Linked DNA regions of Homo sapiens: region 1 is linked to region 2. Evidence: promoter capture Hi-C in 16 types of primary human blood cells and fetal thymus (Javierre and others, 2016). All regions are on one chromosome and are shown on one strand. The core of a region is centred on a gene start or on the middle of the fragment in contact, and the rest is flanking DNA. Distances in the headings are between cores, read along the strand shown.

What was found. Contacts are between HindIII fragments. The CHiCAGO score rates a contact against its expected background, and 5 or more counts as called.
Region 1: a fragment that was not itself captured here is called in contact with the fragment with the promoter of LRRC10 in region 2 in 1 of 17 cell types (total CD8 T cells); the score reaches 5.0 in total CD8 T cells.

The regions. Positions count from the first base shown.
Region 1 is chr12:69,305,322-69,311,519 of GRCh38, forward strand. No RefSeq gene overlaps it. Among named protein-coding and RNA genes, the nearest start is that of MIR1279, 35 kb to the left of the region's middle. The HindIII fragment of the contact is 1,318 bases long and covers 4,290-5,607 here.
Region 2 is chr12:69,608,682-69,614,922 of GRCh38, forward strand. LRRC10 (leucine rich repeat containing 10) reads right to left here and starts at 2,226. Exons shown (of 1, transcript NM_201550.4): 1 at 1-2,226. The coding sequence starts at 2,157. The coding sequence ends at 1,324. The HindIII fragment of the contact is 9,863 bases long and covers 1-6,241 here.

The sequences.
Region 1 (6,198 bases), core at 3,699-6,198, 300 kb before region 2:
TGTATCCTGCAGACATGCTGTATCTGTATATAATTAACTTCCTTGATCTTATTTATGACTCCATATTATCTCATTTTATGTGTGTGACATGATTTATTTAATGTTTCCTCTTCAATGTATTTAAGTTTTTCCCAGTGTTTTGCTATGATAAATAATGCCAAGGAGAATAACTTTATACATGTCATTTTACACGTGTGACTATATATATTTATGAGACATAATCCTAGAAATGGATTGGCTGAGTAAATTTGTAGTTTTGACAGATAACAAAATTGCCAAAATGATCTTGAAGAGATTGTACCAGTTCATTTTCCCACTAGCAAGATATGAGAGTGTTTCCCCTTACCCTTACCAACATAGGATTTTGTCAAGCATTTTGATTTTTGCCAACTAATTAGATCAAAAGTAGCATCAGTTTGTAGTTTTAATTCACATTTCTTATATTACGAGGGTTATTAAGTATCTTTTTATTTATTTAAAAGCCATGTGTATTTCCTTTTCTGTGTCAGTTGTCTGTTACTCATTTTTTTCATAGGGTTGTTGGTCTTTTTCTTATCAATTTATATTCTCTCCTTTATAAATTCAGATGATCAGTTACCTTATATTTGATACAAGCAGCAAAGATTTTCCCAGTTTGTCATTTATCTTTGTCCACAATGTTTGAGCCATGGAGAATGTGTGTGTGTGTAAGTAAACTTACTAATCTCTTAAGGCTTCTATATTTCCACTCAGAGGTTTTCTTTTTAAAATTTTCCCATAATTTTTAAAATCCTTTTTTATGTTTACTATTTAAATATTTGATCTATCCATAATTCATTTTCGTATAATATGTGAAGTATGGATATAATTTATTTTTTCAGCTAGCTCTTCATTTCCTACAATGCCATTTATTGAATAATCCTTATTTTGCCCTATTGATTTGAAATTTTGCCATTTTCATACACTAACTTTTTTCAGTGGATATGTACATATTTATCAACCTCCTATTCTACTCCTTTGATATCTATATTTATTCATATGCAATTACCACATTGTTTTAATTATTATAGCTTTAGAATATGTTTTACTATATAATCGGGTTAATCCCCCTTTATTATTCTTGCCTTTAAGGTTTATGTCTATTATTGCTTATTCATTATATTAGTTATTTATTGCTGTATAACAATTTTCCCTCCAAATGTAATCGCTTAAATAATAAACATTTATTTTCTCATCATTTTTGTATGTCAGGAGTTTAGGAGTCACTTTCCAGGGTAGTTTTGGCTCAGGGTGTCTCATTAGATTGTAGAAAAGATATCAGCTGGGGATGGAGTCATCCAAAGACTTGACTGGTGCTGGAGGATCTACTTCCAAGTTAGTTTTAGCAAGAGGCTTCTGTTCCTCACTTGTTGTTCCTCACTCAGTAACTCACTACATGGACCTCTCCATAGAGCTTTTTGAATATTCTGACATTACAACTGACTTCTCCCTGCACAAATGATCCAAGAGAGAGAAAGCAAGGAGAAGGACACATAATTTTTATGATTTAATGTCAGAAATGGCACACTGTCACTTTATCATATTCATTAGAAGTAAGCTAGTCACACTTTAGGGAGAAGGGAATTAAACTGTACTTCCTAAGGAATTTTTAGACATTTTAAAATCACCATATTCATTTTTCTGTATAAACTTTAGAATTTATCTACTTTCAAAAAATAAAACCAATCTTCTTGATATTTTCATTAGGATCTATTTAGATTTGTAGGCCAACTTTGAGAGAACTGATATTTTTATATCAGTCTTCCTTAATCAAGAATATAATAGACTTTTCCATTTGTTCAAGTTTTATGTTCCTTAACACCTTTTTTCTTTCATATAGATCTTATGTGTCTTTTATTAGATTTATTTCTGGATTTTTAAAAAATTATTTTATTGCTATTGAAAGTAAAATATTTTCAACATAGTATTGGAAGTTCTGGCCAGGGCAATTAGGCAGGAGAAGGAAATAAAGGGTATTCAATTAGGAAAAGAGGAAGTCAAATTGTCCCTGTTTGCAGACGACATGATTGTATATCTAGAAAACCCCATTGTCTCAGCCCAAAATCTCCTTAAGCTGATAAGCAACTTCAGCAAAGTCTCAGGATACAAAATCAATGTACAAAAATCACAAGCATTCTTATACACTAACAACAGACAAACAGAGAGCCAAATCATGAGTGAACTCCCATTCACAATTGCTTCAAAGAGAATAAAATACCTAGGAATCCAACTTACAAGGGACGTGAAGGACCTCTTCAAGGAGAACTACAAACCACTGCTCAAGGAAATAAAAGAGGATACAAACAAATGGAAGAACATCCCATGCTCATGGGTGGAAGAATCAATACCGTGAAAATGGCCATACTGCCCAAGGTAATTTACAGATTCAATGCCATCCCCATCAAGCTACCAATGACTTTCTTCACAGAATTGGAAAAAACTACTTTAAAGTTCATATGGAACCAAAAAAGAGCCCGCATCGCCAAGTCAATCCTAAGCCAAAAGAACAAAGCTGGAGGCCTCACACTACCTGACTTCAAACTATTCTACAAGGCTACAGTAACCAAAACAGCATGGTACTGGTACCAAAACAGAGATATAGATCAATGGAACAGAACAGAGCCCTCAGAAATAATGCCGCATATCTACAACTATGTGATCTTTGACAAACCTGAGAAAAACAAGCAATGGGGAAAGGATTCCCTATTTAATAAATGGTGCTGGGAAAACTGGCTAGCCATATGTAGAAAGCTGAAACTGGATCCCTTCCTTACACCTTATACAAAAATCAATTCAAGATGGATTAAAGACTTAACCGTTAGACCTAAAACCATAAAAACCCTAGAAGAAAACCTGGGCATTACCATTCAGGACATAGGCATGGGCAAGGACTTCATGTCTAAAACACCAAAAGCAATGGCAACAAAAGCCAAAATTGACAAATGGGATCTAATTAAACTAAAGAGCTTCTGCACAGGAAAAGAAACTACCATCAGAGTGAACAGGCAACCTACAAAGTGGAAGAAAATTTTTGCAACCTACTCATCTGACAAAGGGCTAATATCCAGAATCTACAATGAACTCAAACAAATTTACAAGAAAAAAACAAACAACCCCATCAAAAAGTGGGTGAAGGACATGAACAGACACTTCTCGAAAGAAGACATTTATGCAGCCAAAAAACACATGAAAAAATGCTCACCATCACTGGCCGTCAGAGAAATGCAAATCAAAACCACAATGAGATACCATCTCACACCAGTTAGAATGGCAATCATTAAAAAGTCAGGAAACAACAGGTGCTGGAGAGGATGTGGAGAAATAGGAACACTTTTACACTGTTGGTGGGACTGTAAACTAGTTCAACCATTGTGGAAGTCAGTGTGGCAATTCCTCAGGGATCTAGAACTAGAAATACCATTTGACCCAGCCATCCCATTACTGGGTATATACCCAAGAGACTATAAATCATGCTGCTATAAAGACACATGCACACGTATGTTTATTGCAGCATTATTCACAATAGCAAAGACTTGGAACCAACCCAAATGTCCAACAATGATAGACTGGATTAAGAAAATGTGGCACATATACACCATGGAATACTATGCAGCCATAAAAAATGATGAGTTCATGTCCTTTGTAGGGACGTGGATGAAATTGGAAATCATCTTTCTCAGTAAACTATTGCAAGAACAAAAAACCAAACACCGCATATTCTCACTCATAGGTGGGAATTGAACAATGAGAACACATGGACACAGGAAGGGGAACATCACACTCTGGGGACTGTTGTGGGGTGGGGGGAGGGGGGAGGGATAGCATTGGGAGATATACCTAATGCTAGATGACGAGTTGGGGTGCAGCGCACCAGCATGGCACATGTATACATATGTAACTAACCTGCACATTGTGCACATGTACCCTAAAACTTAAAGTATAATAATAATAAATTAAATTAAATTAAATTAAATTAAAAAAAAGAAAGTAAAATATTTTATTTTCTCTCCTAGCTGGTTGTTGTTTGTATATATGATGGTTATTGATTTCTAACATTGTATCTATCTAAAACTATGTGATTGTATCATCTCCTTGTGGTAGATTGAACACAGGGCCACAATTTCTTCCTAATCTGACATCTGTGCCCTCGTAATGTAATGTTGTAGATCCTATCATCAAGAAGTAAGGTCTGTTTTCTTCACTCCTCAATTCTGGATTGGCCATATCATTCACTTTGGTCATGAAACATTAGCAAAGATGACACAACCAGAAGCTTGAAAAGTGTTTGTGGATTAGGGCTAGACCTCAGTCTGCTCTTGGAAATCTGCCACTATGTGAATAAACCTAGGCTAGCCTTCTGGATGATAAGAGACTAGCTGCCTCCTATGATTCTAGACAACAGCCTGCCTACTGTTAGACGTATGAATGAAGCTATCTGAAATCACCTAGCTGCCAACCAACCACTAACTACGGACATCTGAGAAAACCCAGCAATCAGCCAGGGTGGCCTAGACCAGAAGAGCTGCAGTCCACCAAATCATAAGTGAAATAAATGATTATTATTTTAAACCACTGCTACTTTTTGGGGTAATACACAGCAAACACAGACAAACTATTCAAAATACTAAATAAATGTAATAAAAATATTGGAAGGATCCAAATGTCCATCAATGGGAAATTGGTTAAATAAACTATAGTACATCCAAACAATGGCAATAACGGGGAGCACTGGCAAAGAAATTTGTGTATGAAATATTGTGCTGTGAAAAAAAGCAAATTATTCAATAGTATATATTGAATTATCTGACTTACCAAAAAATATGTGTGGTTTCTTTGGGGTGGGATTCTGAGGGAATTCACTTTCTTTTTAAAAATGGTTTTACCTGGGCTTGGTGGCTTATGCCTGTAATCCCTGCACTTTGGAAGACTGATGTGGGAGGATCACCCATGGCCAGGAGTTCAAAACTAGCCCAGGCAACACAGTGAGACGATCTCTACAAAAAATGAAAATATTAGCCAGGCGTGGTGGCACATACCTGTAGTCTCAGCTACTTGGAAGATTCCTCCAGCCCAGGAGTTTAAGGCTGTAATTAGCCATGATTACTCCACTGCTGGGCAACAGAGTGTGACCCTGTTTCATTTAAAAAAAAAAAAAAAAGTCTGTTGTTTACAATTTTGCAACATCTATATTCCATTTACAATCATAAAACAAAACAGTATTGAGGTCCAGGTAACTTGTGATACACCCAGAAAAAATAATTAAAGATAAGTGGTACATTTTCATGCCTGGTTTATTTTTTCTTTTTCTTAAAATGACAGAATATCCAGCTCAGTATGAATATTAGGAAACCAGATAAATATATTTCTCACTGGCCTGTTTTGTCCATACCAAGCCTCTAATTGTCAAGATGATTCTGTTGAAAGATTCTCAATGAGAGGTGGAAAAAAAGAAGTAGGTTTTACTTTTAAGAAAGTTCAACAAATTTTTTCAAATTTTTTGAAATTCAAGAAGTTTTTTCATTATATCTAGCCAATCTATTTATTATAAATAATATTTTTTATTTGCGAATTTCATAGCAGTTGTTTAAAAGCTTTTACTTTGAGGTAATTATATCACCAGTGGCAGCCAAGAAATAACAGAGAAATTCTGTTCAGTCTTCCTCCAGCATCCCCCAATGTCAATATCTTCCACAACTACAGTACAGTCTCAAAATCAAGAAATAGATATTGGTGCAATCTATAGAGCTTATTTATTTATTTATTTATTTATTTATTTATTTATTTATTTATGAGACAGGGTCTCAATCTGTAACTCAAGCTGAAGTGCAGTAGTGTGATCACAGCTCACTACAGCCTTGACCTCCTAGGCTCCAGTGATCCTCCCACCTCAGCCTCCCAAGTAGCTGGGATTACAGGCATGTGCCACCTGGCTAATTTTTTTTAAAAAACCTTTTGTAAAGATGGGATCTCCCTGTGTTGCTCAGGCTGGTCTTGAACTCCTGGGCTCAAGTGATCATCCTGCCCCAGCCTCCCAAAGTGCTGGGATTATAGGCGTGAACCACTGCACCCAGCCCTATAGAGCTTATTTAAATTTCACCAGTTATACATATACTTGTGTGTGTGTGTGTAGCTCTATGCAATTTTAGTACATGTAGAAACTTGTATAACCACCACCACAGT
Region 2 (6,241 bases), core at 976-3,475:
AGGCAGAGATACTAGGCGAAAGAGGCAGAGACTTCCTATATACACTACAACTTCCTATTCAAATTTCAAAGTGCTTGTTTCAAGAGAACACATTTCTCACCTACTACCTTTAAACTAACATGCTTCTGGAAATGTGGTTTTCCTCCAAGGACAGGGATTCAATTTAGCTCAGCTCTGGCTCATTAGTGTGAATAAACAGAAGGGCTTTGCTTCAGGGAGGTAGACAGGAATCACAACAAGGCTTGACTTTAATGAGACCACATTACCACAGAGGTTCTCTTTTCCAGATGACTTCCAACATTGTCAGTGACAGTCAACTGTTGGGAGCAGATCTTGGGACAAACCTTTTAGGGAAAATGAACTAAATCAGCATGAGCCACTGTCAAGTTTAAGGTGACAGCTGAAGGCTGGGTGTGGTGGCTCATGCCTGTAACCCCAGCACTTTGGGAGGCTGAAGCAGGAGCATCGCTTGAGCCCAGGAGTTTGAAACTAGCTTGGGCAACATAGCAAGACCTCATCTCTACGAAAAAATTAAAGACTTAGCCAGGTGTGCACATCTGTAGTACCAGTTACTGGGCAGGCTGAGGCGGGAGGAAGGCTTGAGCCCAGTAGTTCGGGGCTGCAGTGAGCCATGATTGTGCCACTGCACTCCAGCCTAGCAACAGAGTGAGACCTTGTCTCTAATAATAATAAAAGGGGCAGCTGGAGTCCACCAAGAAGTATTGTCCATCAGGGATCTTTTCAGCAGGCACTAAACTGCTGGGGAAAGAGTTTCATCTTGAGCCTTTACAACAACAAACAACTTTTTTCTGTGAATCTGACTGATTGCCTAGGTAGAAATGTCCTTTTCGGTGGCCTCAGTGATACATTGATACTGTTTATGGTCATTTACAGTAAAGAAAATATGTCCTGCAAAGAGACAGACCACCAGAATATTTAGTTCTATGGCAAATACCTTATTTGAGGAGCTCATGAGCTTCATGACCAGTCACTTCTGGAGAGTGCAGGAGTTCAGAGTGTCCCAGCCCCTTTTGCTCTTCAGTGTTTCAAAATACATGTGTGGAGAAGCTGTTTTCTTGCAAAGAAGTTATGATCTCTGGATTGTCATGCCATCATTGGCACACAACTCCCCTCTGGAAGAGGAGCTGTTTGCCAGAAATATTTTCTCAGTGTGATTTATGGCATTCCACCTGGCTCTCTCCATCAGTCTCTACTAGCAGAGCCACTCCCAAATGACCCAGAGCCATCCTTTCCACTCCAATGGAGAGGCTTCCAGAACATGCTGCAGTTGGGTCCTTGGCATTGACTTGCAACTGAAGCTCCTCAGGAGTTGGTAGGAGGAAGTAGAGGGACTGGTGCCTGTAGCTCCTGGCTTTCCTCTCTGACCAACGCATAGCGCCTGGCTTTTCTAGGGTCGGGCTCTGGCGTCTCCTCTGCCCATCTCCCCACACGGCGCACACCTTTGGCCACCTTGGGTGCGTTCCTGCAAGGATTGTGGTCATAGATGACCAGCTTCAGACTTGACAGGTGCGCCAGGCTGGGGAAGTAACGGATGCTGTTCCAGTCCACATCAATCACCTCCAGGAAGGGCATGTGAAGCAGCACAGTGGGAAAGTCAGTTAGCCGGTTGCCCGAGAGCCAGATGGTCCTCAGCTCCTGGAGGCGCCGGAGCTGGCCTGGCAGCAAACGCAGGGCGTTGGAGCCGGCATGCAGAGTCTTAAGGAGACTCAGCTCACAGACCACATCCGGCAGCTGGGTGAGGCAGTTGGCCTCGATCCACAGGGTCCTGAGGTTCTGGAGCAGGCTCAGCTCACTGGGGAGGTCGCAGAGTTTGTTGTTGCCCAGGTAGAGGATGCAGAGCTGTTTCAAGGTGCACACCACCTGGGGCAGAGCCTTGAAGTTGTTGAAATCCAAGGCCAGAATCTGCAGGTTCTGTAGCTGCCCCAGCTCCGGAGGCAGGCTATTGAGGTGGTTGTCGCTCAGGTAGAGCTTGACCAGCTCCCTGAAGGAGCACACGTGCAGGGGGAAGCGGCGTAACTGGCTCCCACTCAGATCCACCATCTTGTCCAGCGGCATCTCACGGAGGTCCCTGACCACATAGTTCTGGCAACGGTCAGCAGGGATGAAGGCCACGAGGGCCCTGATGGTGTTCCCCATGCGGAGGCTGGGGGCATGGCGAGCCCCAGAGGACAGACTCACTGAGCGGGGCTGGCTCAGCTGACTGCTCTGGGGCCTATCCTACCCTCCCATTATAACTTGGGGATTGCATGACAAAAGCCAGTCACTTTGACAGAGAAAAGTGCTCCTGATAGCAACTTGAGTGTCCGGCGACAGCGCAACAGTCCGGCAGGGGCTGGGAGGCCATGTCTGACTCACATGCTTGCCTTTAATCACCTAAGCCCCAATCCCCTTTATCAACCTTTTTTCATTTCAAGCTGAAAATAGCTTTGCTGTTTTTTTCCCTAATGATAAAATATTAACACATTACATAAAGGTGTAAAAGAAGAAAATGAAAAACACCCATAGTTCTATTACCCAGAGATAAATACTGTACACATTTGCATGTGTCCTCTAGTCTTTTCGCTATAAGTAATCATTTGTTTTTTAAAATTGCACTTTAGGAGCTTTTTTTTTTTTTTTTTTTGACAGGGTCTCATTCTGTCACACAGGCGGGAGTGCAGTGGTGCAATCTTGGCTCACTACAGCTTCTACCTCCCTGGCTCCAGCAATCCTCACACCTCAGCCTCCTGAGTAGCTGGGACTACAGGTGCACACCACCGTGCCCAGCTAATTTTTGTATTTTTTGTAGAGATGAGGTTTCGCCATGTTGCCCAGGCTGGTCTTGAACTCCTGGGCTCAAGAGATCTGCCCGCCCTGGCCTCTCAAAATGCTGGGATTACAGGCGTGAGCCATGGTACTTGACCAGGAACCTTATTTTTTAATCATGACGTATCATGGACATATTTTCATGTTTGCAGATATCTATGCAATTATTTTAAACCCCTGCATAGTATTCCATTACATGGATGTGCAGTAATTTAAACAGTTTTCTGTGGTTAGGCATCTAGGTTGTTTACAAAGCATGACTATTATAAACATCCATGTGCATACAGATGTGAGCAGCAATCCACTCATTTCTTTAGAAACCGTCCTTAGAAGTGTTGCTGGAGCAGGCCAGGTGTGGTGGCTCACGCCTGTAATCCCAGCACTTTGGGAGGCCAAGGTGAGCCAATCACTTAAGCCCAGGAGTTTGAGGTCAGCTTAGGCTACATGGTAAAACCCCATCTCTACTAAAAAAAACAAAAATTAGCTGGGTGTGGTGGCACACACCTATAATCCCAAGTACTTGGGAGGCTGAGGCAGGAGAATGGCGTGAACCCAGGAGGCGGAGCTTGCAGTGAGCCGAGATTGCGCTACTGCACTCCAGCCTGGGCGACAGAGCAAGACTCCATCTCAAAAAAAAAAAAAAAAAAAGTGTTGCTGGATCATAGATATGCATCATTTACAGGTTTTTCATTGATGGCTCCTCTGTACCCCACCAAATCTGAGCCAGTACACACACCCACCAGCAATGGTTACAGGTTTCTAATTTCTCATGTCTTCATTCTTATCAGATGATATCTTTCCACAGTTTAAAAACTTGCCTTTGACAAAAGATAAGTAGAAAAGCAGAAGAAAGAGAAGCAAGCTAGCCTTCTGCATGTTAAATAAATTCGGATGTATTCCTACAGTGCACCTTTGTCAGGTATGTTTGACCACCCATTAAAGGTTTGTGTTTCCCTTCCACAGTGTCCAGTTGTTCCAGACAAGCAGCTGTCCAGCCAGGACAATTTCCTAGTGCTGGTCTACAGGGGAAACTCTTCAAGTTCTGGCCAAAGTAATGTGGGCAGAAGTGTTAGATGTCACCTCTAGACTTGGTTCATTGTAAAACAAACCTTTTGCCCTTCTCCACACTCTCCTTCCCCATCTACTGGCTGGATGTTGTCACCCAGAGTGACTATAGCAGCCACCAAGTATATGGAAGTCATATGTTGCAGGTGGCAGGGCCGTGGTCATCCTAGATTCCTGAATAAGTGCTAAGAGCAAAACATCTCCTTACCCTCCTCACTCCCACTTGATCCCCAATAGGATTGAGGTAAATGAGAAATAAATGTTAATTATGTGAAGTCATCGAGATTGGGGGCTTATCTTTTATACTACTTTATACATACAGCAGTTGCTAAAAATAAGGAGGCAAATCCACATATACTGATATGGGAAGTGATTCCGGATAAATAAAGTAGGGAGGGAAAAAAGCAAATTTCAGAATAGTTTTTTAATGATTCCCATCTGTGAAAAAATATATCTTTGTGTGTGCATAAAAATATCTGTAAGAAATAATGGTGATTAACTCTGGAAAATCTACCTGAGGGTTTGTGGGTGATAGGGATGCTGACTTTTCCATTTACATCCTTTTGTACTCTTGATTTTTTTAAAAAACTAGAGGCACTTATCATTTTAAATTTAAAAACTCTAGTCCAAAAACAACCAATCCATCAGCCTACCTGCTCTCTGGATAGAGTTTCAGGGTGGGTGAGGGAGCCTGGCACACCCTTGCTCCGCGTCCAATGACTTTGCTGCTGAATTGCTTGTAACGGACCACACTGTTGAGAAGCACCTCGTGAATGGCGATTCTACAGAGCTGTTTGGTGATGCAGCAGAGCTACCCACTTTCTGCTCACAGGTCATGACTGAAGCCAGTGTTCTTCCTGGACTTTCTACACATTGAATGTCAAGGGCTATTATCTTGAGCCCTCTTCTTGCTTTGCTTATTTGTATTAAAATAACTGGCCTGTCAACTCTGCTTTACTGCTATATTTAGCATGGTCAGTGGTGACCACAAATGGTTATGAAGCAGCTGCCCTAGTGTCATCCCTAGAAATGATAATGATAATAATGTTGCTACCAGGTGCCTTATATATAATCTATTCTTGCAACACCAGCCAGATAAATATGTTTTACCTTACTTTTCAGATGAGAAAACTGTGTGTGGTTCAGAGAGGTTTAATGATATTATCAAATATTGACTGAACACCTACTATGCTTTAGATGCAGGTAATCAAATGAGTAACAAGATAGATAAAACCCTGATCTCACACAGTGTACAATTCTATCAGGGTAGGCTCCTGTTGAACCATACAAGGTGACAAACTTTGCCCTGCCAAACGGAATTTCCATGCAGCACTTTAGATAACAAAACACTTGAAGAAGATCTCCTACGTGAAAATCAGAGATTGAAATAAGAATGTTTAAAATCAAGACAAAAAAATGAAGTGAATAGAAGAAAATAATAAACTATAACATAATATTTTCAGAGAGTTAATGATAGCACTTGCGTGCTGGGTGTGGTATTATTAGGTCATTTAATCCTTACAGCAATCCTAAAATGTATGTACTGTTATTGTTTCCACTTGATAAAGAAAGAAATTGGGGAACAAGGAGTTTATGCAACCTGAACAAGCTAGCGCGCAGCCGAGCAGGGATCTGAACCCAGATCATCTTGCTCTACAGTCTGTGTTCCAAATACTGTGCCTTTCTTGGATGACATAACATCCATAAAAAGAGTAGGATGCTATTAGAAAGAAAGAAATATTCTAAGAATAAGAAAGGGCTCTTGGAAATAAAGATATGAAAAAAGCACAATTAAAAATAAAATAGAAGAAAAACAGAAGGTGTTTCCTCAAAAAATTAAAAATAGAATTACCAAATGATCCAACAATTCCACTTCTGGGTATATATCCAAAGAAAATAAAAATAAAAACAGGATCTTTTTTTTTTTTTTTTTGAGACAGAGTTTCACTCTTGTTGCCTAGGCTGGAGTGCAATGACACGATTTCGGCTCACTGCAACCTCCGCCTCCCATGTTCAAGTGATTCTCCTGCCTCAGCCTCCTGAATAGCTGGGACTACAGGGGTGTGCCACTATGCCCAGCTTTTTTTTTTTTTTTTGTATTTTTCGTAGAGATGGAGTGCACACCATTTTGGCCAGGCTGGTCTTGAACTCCTGACCTCAGGTGATCCACCTGCCTCTGCCTCCCAAAGTGCTGGGATTACAGGTGTGAGCCACCACACCCGGTTAAGATGGGAAATTTTTGCATATTTTACCACAATTTAAAAAATAAAATTAAAAAATATAATAGAAGGCTTGAGAACATCTCATCAAAAGTTGAAGAAAAGGCTGGGTGTGGTGGCTCATGCCAATA